Linked DNA regions of Homo sapiens: region 2 is linked to region 1. Evidence: promoter capture Hi-C in 16 types of primary human blood cells and fetal thymus (Javierre and others, 2016). All regions are on one chromosome and are shown on one strand. Each heading gives the region's core, a stretch centred on a gene start or on the middle of the fragment in contact. The rest is flanking DNA. Distances are from core to core; before and after follow the strand shown.

What was found. Contacts are between HindIII fragments. The CHiCAGO score rates a contact against its expected background, and 5 or more counts as called.
Region 2: a contact is called between a fragment that was not itself captured here and the fragment with the promoter of DEFB112 in region 1, in 1 of 17 cell types (erythroblasts). The highest score is 6.0, in erythroblasts.

What each region holds. Positions count from the first base shown.
Region 1 is chr6:50,046,805-50,051,321 of GRCh38, reverse strand. It overlaps DEFB112 (defensin beta 112), which reads left to right and starts at 1,393. Exons shown (of 2, transcript NM_001369057.2): 1 at 1,393-1,510. The coding sequence starts at 1,453. The HindIII fragment of the contact is 4,636 bases long and covers 1,333-4,517 here.
Region 2 is chr6:49,525,819-49,530,793 of GRCh38, reverse strand. GLYATL3 (glycine-N-acyltransferase like 3) reads right to left here. Exons shown (of 6, transcript NM_001010904.2): 6 at 2,716-4,306. The coding sequence ends at 3,880. Among named protein-coding and RNA genes, the nearest start is that of C6orf141, 22 kb to the left of the region's middle. The HindIII fragment of the contact is 8,083 bases long and covers 1-4,975 here.

The sequences.
Region 1 (4,517 bases), core at 144-2,643:
TTATACTATGTCAAATGATAGTTAAATCCTCTATTCAGTGAACCCCAGTAAGTCCTTAGCTTTTAGTATAAATTCTTAGCTTTTTTTTTTGAGACAGTGTCTCACTCTGTCACCCAGGCTGGAGTACAGCGGCATGATCATGGCTCACTGCAGCCTCGACCTCCCAGGGCTCAGGAGATCTGCCCACCACAGCATCCCAGTGTAGCTGAGACTACAGGCGTGTGTCACCACTCCTGGCTAATATTTGTATTTTTGTAGAGATGGGGTTTCACCGTGTTGCCCAGACTGGTCTTGAACTCTGGAGCTCAAGCGCTCTGTCTGTCTCGGCCCCCAAAAGTGCTGAGACTACAGGCATGAGTCACTGCATCTAGTCAAGTCCTTTACTTTTAATTCATATTTTATCAGTGAAGAATTTGGTTGTAGAAGGGAAAAATTATTGATCATATCTCTTTATCACTTTGCCCAGGAAGCCTTGCCACAATTCTGATTATTTGTACATGTTTCAGTTGCAACACCTTTGTAAATAACATTCTCATAAATGTAAAATAAGGATGACTAATATTAACTGGGGCTTCTTTACACCCAGATTCTTAGTGCTCTTTATGAGTATAGTAAGAGAGATTCAATGGGTCATTATTCCTTATGGGGTCTGGGGAACAATATCAACTCTTTATCGTATATCTGCTATAGTCGACTTTGGAAAACTTACAAATTAACTCAGAAATAACTTCTCACTACATAGAAAATAACAACAAACAAACAGAGAAATGCATTCTAGGTTTATAACATTGAATGTTTTTGCACTGACATTCACAAATCCTACTTGAGGGGACAGACCTTTCTTTGTGGTACAGCTAAGCTCGATAGGATAATATCCATAAACACCAGAATACTGTCATGATTTATGTTCATACATAATTTAAGTAAAGAAGGTATGGATTATAAAATTACCTGACAAATCTGGATCTCAACATTTTTATATGTAAAATTAAATATTCTGTATGATAATTTCAGTCTAAAGTTCTGTGGTTTTGATTTCTTATTACATTGAGATTCATTGTTAATACTGGGGCCATTAAAATAGTGAATGGAATTATATAAAACTAGTACTCCTGGGGTATCAAGTGAATTGCTGCAGGACTATTTCGGATCTTGGTCACTTAGCAATTTATACCCATATTCTTGTAACTGTTAAAGTTTCTTAAAGAAACTGACTGCAAGAGAAATCAGCAGATGTAACTTTTGTGTGACAATGCAGCTTTTTCTAGTCACTATCTCTTTGAATATGGCACTATGCACCAAGCATAGAAATGTTCTCACTCTTAATAAGCTTCAGTAGTCAAAACTATGCAGAAGAATTCTTTAAATGTAAGGGTTTTTTTTTCTTGTTTCAACAACAGCTGAGTCAGACAGATGATCTGTACACTGTTTTATACCAAGAAATCATTTACAATGAAGATCCTTCTCTTTTTCTGTATTTTGCTTTTCTTTGGAGTCCTTATTCCACCAGGTAATATGAATATTATTGCTAGAGGGGTCAAGGGGCCAGCATTAAAGTCGGGGAGCTGGGTTATTTAAAGTAGAATTGACATTATAAAACATTTTATTAATACCATCATCATGTTACATTACATTTATTCACAGTTCTCAGGTAAAAATATTTGAATAATTTTTCAAGCACAGCATCCTAGAAAAGGCTGTAATTCACCTTAATTACATGAAAATATACATTCATATATATGCATATATGTAAATGATTAGAAGAAAATAATGCTACGTTGATTTCACAGATCCATGAAATGTGTATTTATTCAACACTCAAATTTAACTGAATTTGATCTATTAATAGATTAGAAAAAACTGGGAAAGTTATGAATTATGCTTGGAAATCATTGATCCCCACAGTGATATTTATAGCAGAGGTTAATCAGATAAAATGTCTTGCTAAAAGTTTCAGATTGTATTTTATTAACAATTGAGACAAGCTGCACTTGTCTACTGCTCACTTCCAGTTAAATTCTCCTTTTTCTTTATCTTGCTGCTTTCTCTGATTATCAAGATATCTTTCAGTATTGAGATCAGAGGAGGTAACCTTAAAATAAATCTGTAGTAACTCATTATTTTACTGTTATTCTGCCCTAACATTTAAACATAAATAGCTTTTTAGCTAATAATTTCTCACCAAAAGGGGACAAGGAGGTGAACTTCAGTTAATAATGTAAACCAACAAGGGAGTTAATTTAAATCAGATAATAATTTTTCTTCTTTATAAAAATTAATTAAAGTGTGCTCATTAGAATTCTCTCTATATTTAGAACTTTTCTGAGGTACAAAGAATTATACAGATTTCAATAAACACTGATAGGTTTTCTTCATAATAATGATTTTAATAGCTAGCATTTGTTCAGCCTTTTGCCTGTATTAATTTATTTTTCCTAACAATAGCCATGCAAGGTGAACTTATTAATAGCCAAGTCATTTATTCATTTAACTGGATTTTTAAACATATGTACTATATGTTTATCATTTTGTAAAACCTTTTATAATATATAGGACCATTAAATAGAGGCAACTACATTTGTGTCCTTATTTCTGAAAATATTTTTCCTCCTACTTTTAAAGTAATTTTTTCACTTTACAGTGAGCTCTTAACAACCTCTTAGCACTCTTATGAAATTATTGACAACCATATGTAGACTGAAACTTGAAAAAATGTACTCAAAGACAAATACATCTTCCACAATATTTGAAAAGGCCCGACATGGGACAGAGAAAATCAGCACAGGTAAAACAAAATAAGTAGAATTGTGTCTTGCACATTTTAATCAATACTTTTTGACTGAAATGAAGTAAATATTCTGAGTATATTCTCTACCTCAGTCCCTGTTTACTTATATGTTCTTGTCTTTCACCTCATAGCTTTATGAAGACTGAATTTCATGTTTAAAACAAGAAAGAAATCTTATTTTAAGGTTGTAGAGGCCGATTTTTTTGATAAAATGCTGGCTAGACAAATGTCCTTTTATCATTTCCATGAAGAAAGGTTTTCTAACCATTGTTCTCAGCAACATTATTACTTTTTAAAATGTTTTAATGTAATTGTGCTTAGGAATTATACTGTTGTCTCAGTTTCCCTCCTACTCAACAGCTGGACATATTTATTTTTTTTTTTTTGAGACGGAGTTTCACTCTTGTTGCCCAGGCTGGAGTGCAATGACACTATCTTGGATCACTGCAACCACCGTCTCCCGGGTTCAAGCAATTCTCCTGCTTCAGCCTCCGGAGTAGCTGGGATTACAGGCTCCCACCACCACGCCCCGCTAATTTTTTGTATTTTTAGTAGAGACAGGGTTTCACCATGTTGGCTAGGCTGGTAGCGAACTCCTGACCTGAGGTGATCTACCTGCCACGGCCTCCCAAAATGCTGGGATTACAGGTGTGAGCCACCACGCCTGGCCAAGGCAAAACTATTTTTATCAATCACTACTGTTCAAAATACTGATATTTTTGGATATAAAAAGTATATTGTTATATGAAAAGAATGATAAAGGTGTTCTGTTTATTTGAAAGCACGGTTTAATTAAGATAACTCAAAAAGGCAATTGAGCAACAAAAGTCTAGATAAGGGACTGGGAACTTAGTTTTAAAAGAATTCTTTTTGACTAAGTTTCACTGGATGTCAGCATGATGTTGGAATGGGACTTTTCAATGCTCCTTCCTTTACAGAATCACTAATTTGAACAATTATCCATGCACGAAAATGCCTTCACAAGAGCTAAGGAAACCAGGTGAGAGATTACAGCACTTGGGTAGATTACAGAAATAAGAAAAGACACATTAAAGAGGGTAGGAAAGATAGTGTCACATTGCTCATGGACCTCTCTCCCAAGCCTAGATAGCACAGCCTGGAGACAGATACCCTCCCTGTGAAGGAAAGAGAGGGAAATGACCATAGAAATTAGCCTTGGACCCAACACTGGATGCCCTTTCTAAGTAGAACCCAGCACCGAGCAGGCCCCCATGGCCTCAGACTTCAGACCAGTACCTGAAGACTGAGCTTCCAAGTCTGCTCTGGCACCAGGCCGGATCTGACAGCCTCTGGCTCTAGGCCAGCCCATCAAGTCTCAGCTCACTGCCCCTCCAGGCCTGCCCAGTAGCCCTAGTGCTAGTTCAAGCCCCACAGACTCAGGCTAGGCCCAATAATCACACTCGGTTTCCAGAGTTTCTCTAGAGCTAGGCTGGCCCCAGTGTTCCTGGGCTCTGGATCCCCCCAACACCAAGCTGACCCCCAGGTTTCAGGCTTGTCCAAGAACAAGGTGAGCTCCACAGCCATAGTCATCAGGGAAGGACCTGTGGACTCAGCCCCGAGGCCAGCCTCGGTGGATACAGGCTCCAGGTTCACTCAGTACCTGGCCAGCTCATGTAACCCTAGGCTCACCTTTATTCCAAACCTATGTTTTAGGACCCATAGCCTTTAAAGGTTCTTCCCTCTTGTCCATTACACCACTTTACCAATC
Region 2 (4,975 bases), core at 1,773-4,272, 520 kb after region 1:
AATATGCATTTTTTTTCCAGATTTCAGGCCTGTTTTTTATTAACGAATATTCCTTATTGCAGTACAACTTGCATACAGAAAAGTAGATATATCATAATTATATAGCTTGATAATCATATGCTCTAGGCCCTGACTCACAGGGGGCGAGGAGGAGGTGGTTAGTCATGCAGATTTGCCTATGGAAAGACTGAGCCCAGCAGGGAAGGGCCTGGCTAAGTCAGGGCTGGAGGGAACATACTTGTGTTACCAAGTGGAACACAGCTGTGTAACAAAGTGTTACAAAGTGAACACACCTTTGTAACCCACCCAAGTCAAGAATCAGAATATTACTGGAAATCCAGAAGCCATTTCATGTCCAGTTTTACTTACTATCCTTCTGAAGGGTAATTACTTCCTGACTTCTACAGATATAGATTCATTTTGCCTGGTTTTAAACTTTATAGAAACAGGATTATGCAATATGCAGTTTCTGGCTTCTTTTTGGTACATATGTTTAAAATATTTGAGAGTGAAATATGGAATGAAGATGTTTCATTCCTAATGTATTCTTGACCTCTCAGCATAATTTGACACCATTGACCATCCCTCCATTTTTAAATTTTTCTTCTTTCTCTTCCATGGGAGTCATCTCCTGGCTTTCCTCCTATCTTCTGGCTGCTCCTTCTCCTATTCCAGAGCCTTTCTTTTCCCTTGCCTTAAATAGTTGATGCATTTAAGGTTCAGTCCTAGACAACCTCAGCTAAATTCATGGCTTCTGTTATCATCTATATCAGTTATCTGTTATCTATATCTATATTTATATCTATATCTATATCTATATCTATATCTATATCTATATCTATATCTATATCTGTTATCATCTAAGTCAATACATCTATCCCAAATAAATTCTCTGAGATTTAGACTCAAATATCCAACTTGGTCCCATCACTTGCATGTTTCAAAACTCAACATCCCAAAACTGAACAAACAATTTTCCCTGCTACAAATTGCTCCAGATCTGAGATTTTTCCAGGGTTTCTGATCTCAGTGAAAACTATCACCAGCTGTGGCTTTCACAACGTAGAAGCCCAGTAGTCATCCTTGACATTTCTCTCTCAGCATACCCTACAGCCACTAAATTATTAAGTTCTGACAACTCTTCCTTTTAAATAGTTTAAGTAACTGTTCACTTTTCACCATTATCATTGCTAGCATTCAGATCCAAGCTACCACCACCTTTTGCTTAGCTTATAGCCTCCCAACTAATTTCCAAACAGATTAATGCGCTGCTTAAGGCTTTTTTTTTGGTTTTTATATTACATTGAAGAATTTCCTTGAATTAACAAATAAAACCTATGTTAATCAAGCCTCTTCCTACTTCTTTTTGTTGAGACACAGTCTGGCTCTGTTGCCCAGGCTGGAGTGCAGTGGCGCTATCTTGGCTCACTGCAACCTCTGCTTCCTGGATTCAAGTGATTCTCATGCCTCAGCCACCCAAGCAGCTGGGCTTACAGGCATGTGCCACCATGCCCAGCTAATTTTTGTATTTTTAATAGAGATGGGTTTTTGCCATGTTGGCCAGGATGTTCTCTAACTCCTGGTCTCAAGTGATCCATCTGCCTTGGCCTTCCAAAGTGCTGGAATTACAGGTGTGAGCCCCCACGCCTGGCCCCGTTTCTACTTCTTGAGTTTTTCTCTTCTCCTTGTCCTCTCCTTACTCCAGACTTTCTCTGCACATGCCTTAAAAGGGTCAGAAACAGTGTTAAAAGTTGAGCAATTATATCCAACATAGTTAGCTGGAAGATGAAAGTAAGAAAATAGTATAAGAGCAATTTGGTAGGAACAAAAATCTTTCAAATATGGGGTCTGTTTTGGAGGTGCGGGTGAAGGTAGAAAATTCAGAATGTAACGAGATAAGGGAATAATTATTTACAAACTGTTCCAAGCTGCTTAAGAGGCCAATTAGCATAATGACTAGTAGTATAGGCTTTGCAATCCAACAAACCCATGTTCTGATCATGATTTGGCCACTTAGAGCCTGCATGACTTTGGTGACTCATAACACCTCTAAGCAAGAATTCCCACAACAAAGCAATACCTTATCCCTCACCAGGATTAAGTTATATACATCTCATATTTGGTACAATTATTAGCACATAGTTAAACGTTAAATGTCAGGCAAATTATCATTAGGAAGAAAATAAGGCTATAATAATATTGCTATATATCAAGCAGGATTAACTCATGCTTAAGCGATGCTAAACATAATTAGCGTCCTTAGGGCATATTCTCCTAAGAGGTTTATGGACTCTGGTTACTTGGTGCTTTCCCCTCTGGATCCAAGGCTAGATAAGTTTCCAGGTAACTGTGGGCTCAGGATGAACTAAGCATATATTTACTCTTACTGAGTCCTATTTTTTTAATTAAAATGTGTTTTACTTCAGCCAGTTTGCTTCCTTTTCTCAGAATGAATGCCTGAAAGTTGGATTTTCCCTTATCTTTGTAGTCAGAATTTTGTGACCTCCTTGGGGATAAGAAACCAATATTTTCTATATAGCTAAGTCAACATTATCAAGACAAGGCAAATCTAACTATTGTGTTAGTGCCTGCTTTTATTATAAATAGAGAACAGAGCTGGTGATGCTTATCTCTTTCTTTACTGACCTTGAAAGGTATACATACACAAGCAATCAGAACCCAAATTAAGAAATAATGACAAGAATAAGAGAAAACTAAAATTAATATTTTAATTATGTAAGCATTTTAATTTTCATTATAAAAAAGGATACATGATTTAGTGAAAATAACAGATTGGAATTAAAATGGCAGCATTCTGGCTTTGCCTCCAGTACTGATTATAAAGAATATAATCTTGAAAAAGTCATTTATTTTCTCTGGTCCTCAAATTTTTCATATGTAATCAAAGGGTTAAAATTTATTATCTTATCAAAATTCTATGAGTATATACCTATACATATAAAAGAAATGAAGAGAATGTATATATATGTGTATGCATATATGTTATATATTCATTTGCATACCCCCAAACACCCCTATATATAAATCTTAGTTTTATATGGGAAAGTAGACTATAAATAAGGGGGCTGAAATAGGTTATAGGTAAAGTCTAGTTCTATGGTGACAGCATTTGTTTATAGCATCAAAATGCCCATATTGTCATTCATCCAAGGCAAATAAGCAGTGGGAAGCTGTTAGAAATGCAAATTTTGGGCCCTACCTCGTAGAAGGAGAGGCCTAGTGATGTGTGTTGCAACCTGCCCTCTGGGTGATTCTGATAAACACTAAAATGTAAGAACCACTATATTTGAACATTCCCAGGGCAGTGAACTATAGGCTAGAGTCCTAGGCAGAAGTAAAGAGCAAGTAATTAAAGGGGAAAAAGGAGGTTACTCTACAGAGAACTTGGTGGCAGAGGTGTTAGGAACAGAGGTTGATGAGACATAGCAGTGGGGACAGGGGAATATGATGGCAGTAGGGAAGCGGTGTGGCTTTAAGAATACAGAGCAGAGGTCCAAGCAGCAATCAAAAAGCAGTAGCCACGTGGTCCTCTGTTAAATCATTTGTTCTCATGCAGTAATTTCTCCTAGTACACTAAAACTGCTGGCTTTAGAACCTATTCTCCTACAGTGGATCCTACAGGAGGACAATCGTCCTCAGTCTTCAGCCACAGCTACTCTTCACCCCCACAGCTATTTACTGGAGAAACCTGAGATACGAAAAATTAAGGCTTCTCAAGTGGATCCTGTATATATTCTCCAGACCCTTTCCAACAACTCAAGAGTCCCCTGATTCCCATTTTAACTCTCCCCTCGTTGGCAGCCAAGAGTGTGTGTATGCTCAGGGAAAGTAATAAAACCACTGCAGTTTTTTACTGGGCTAGAGGTGAGGCAGGCCAGAGAAAGTCGCAGGGGTGAGAATAAGCCTGTGGAAGCGACAAGGCAAGAACTCAGCATGGAGACTCTTCAGGAGGCTTATAGACGCCGTGTTGTCATCCAGGACGTTCCCCTGAGAGGGGAATCCCCGGCTTTGCAACTTCCTGGCCAGCGTGAGGGCCACCAGCCGGCTGTAACCTTTCCTGCGATGTTCTGGCAGGGTGTAGCCATGGCACATGGTGGCAAACTGGTCTGTGATGGACCAGGAGACCGGGTTTCCCTTCTCATCCCGGACACACACACTAGGGAAGCAGGAGATGAGGTTGGCGATGTACCGGAGACATTGTTCATTGCCTCCCCGGGACCAAGTCCGGTTGAGTAGATCCGCATTGGCAACACTCAGGTAGGTTAGTCGTGGGGAAGGCCCCTTGCTAGACCAGAATGACACAAAAACAAATAGGACCTCAGACTCATGTGGTTATACATAACTACACATTTTTTTTTTCGAGACACAGTCTTGCTCTGTCGCCCAGGCTGGAGTGCAGTGGCGTGATCTCTGCTCACTGCAACCTCTGCCTCCCGGGTTCAAGCAATTCTCCTGCCTCAGCCTCCCAAGTAGCTGGGATTACAGGCACCCGTCACCATCCCAGCTAATTTTTGTATTTTTAGTAGAGACGGGATTTCACGATGTTGGCCAGGCTGTTCTCGAACTCCTGACCTCGTGATTCACCCCTCCCGGCCTCCCAAAGAGCTGAGATTATAGGCGTGAGCCACCATGCCCGACCTATAACTACTCTTTTCATATTGGTTCAAACTGAGAAACCATCCCTGAGAGGGCACCTAAGATTTTCAGTGAGTTAGAATCCACCATTCCCGATTTACCAACACCTTTCCGGGTTTCATTTCTGAGAAGACAAAACACTTATTACATCAAATTTAAGTCGTTGCTTCTAATTTTATGTTCACTTGCTTTTGCCTTCAGCACAGGTTAAGGAAAGTGTTTCTGTTGTTAAATAAATTAAGTTTGGCCTGCAGCTCCCTCCATACCTTGAGTCCCCGCGTGTTGAACTGCAACCTAACTTGACACAAAACCAACCCTA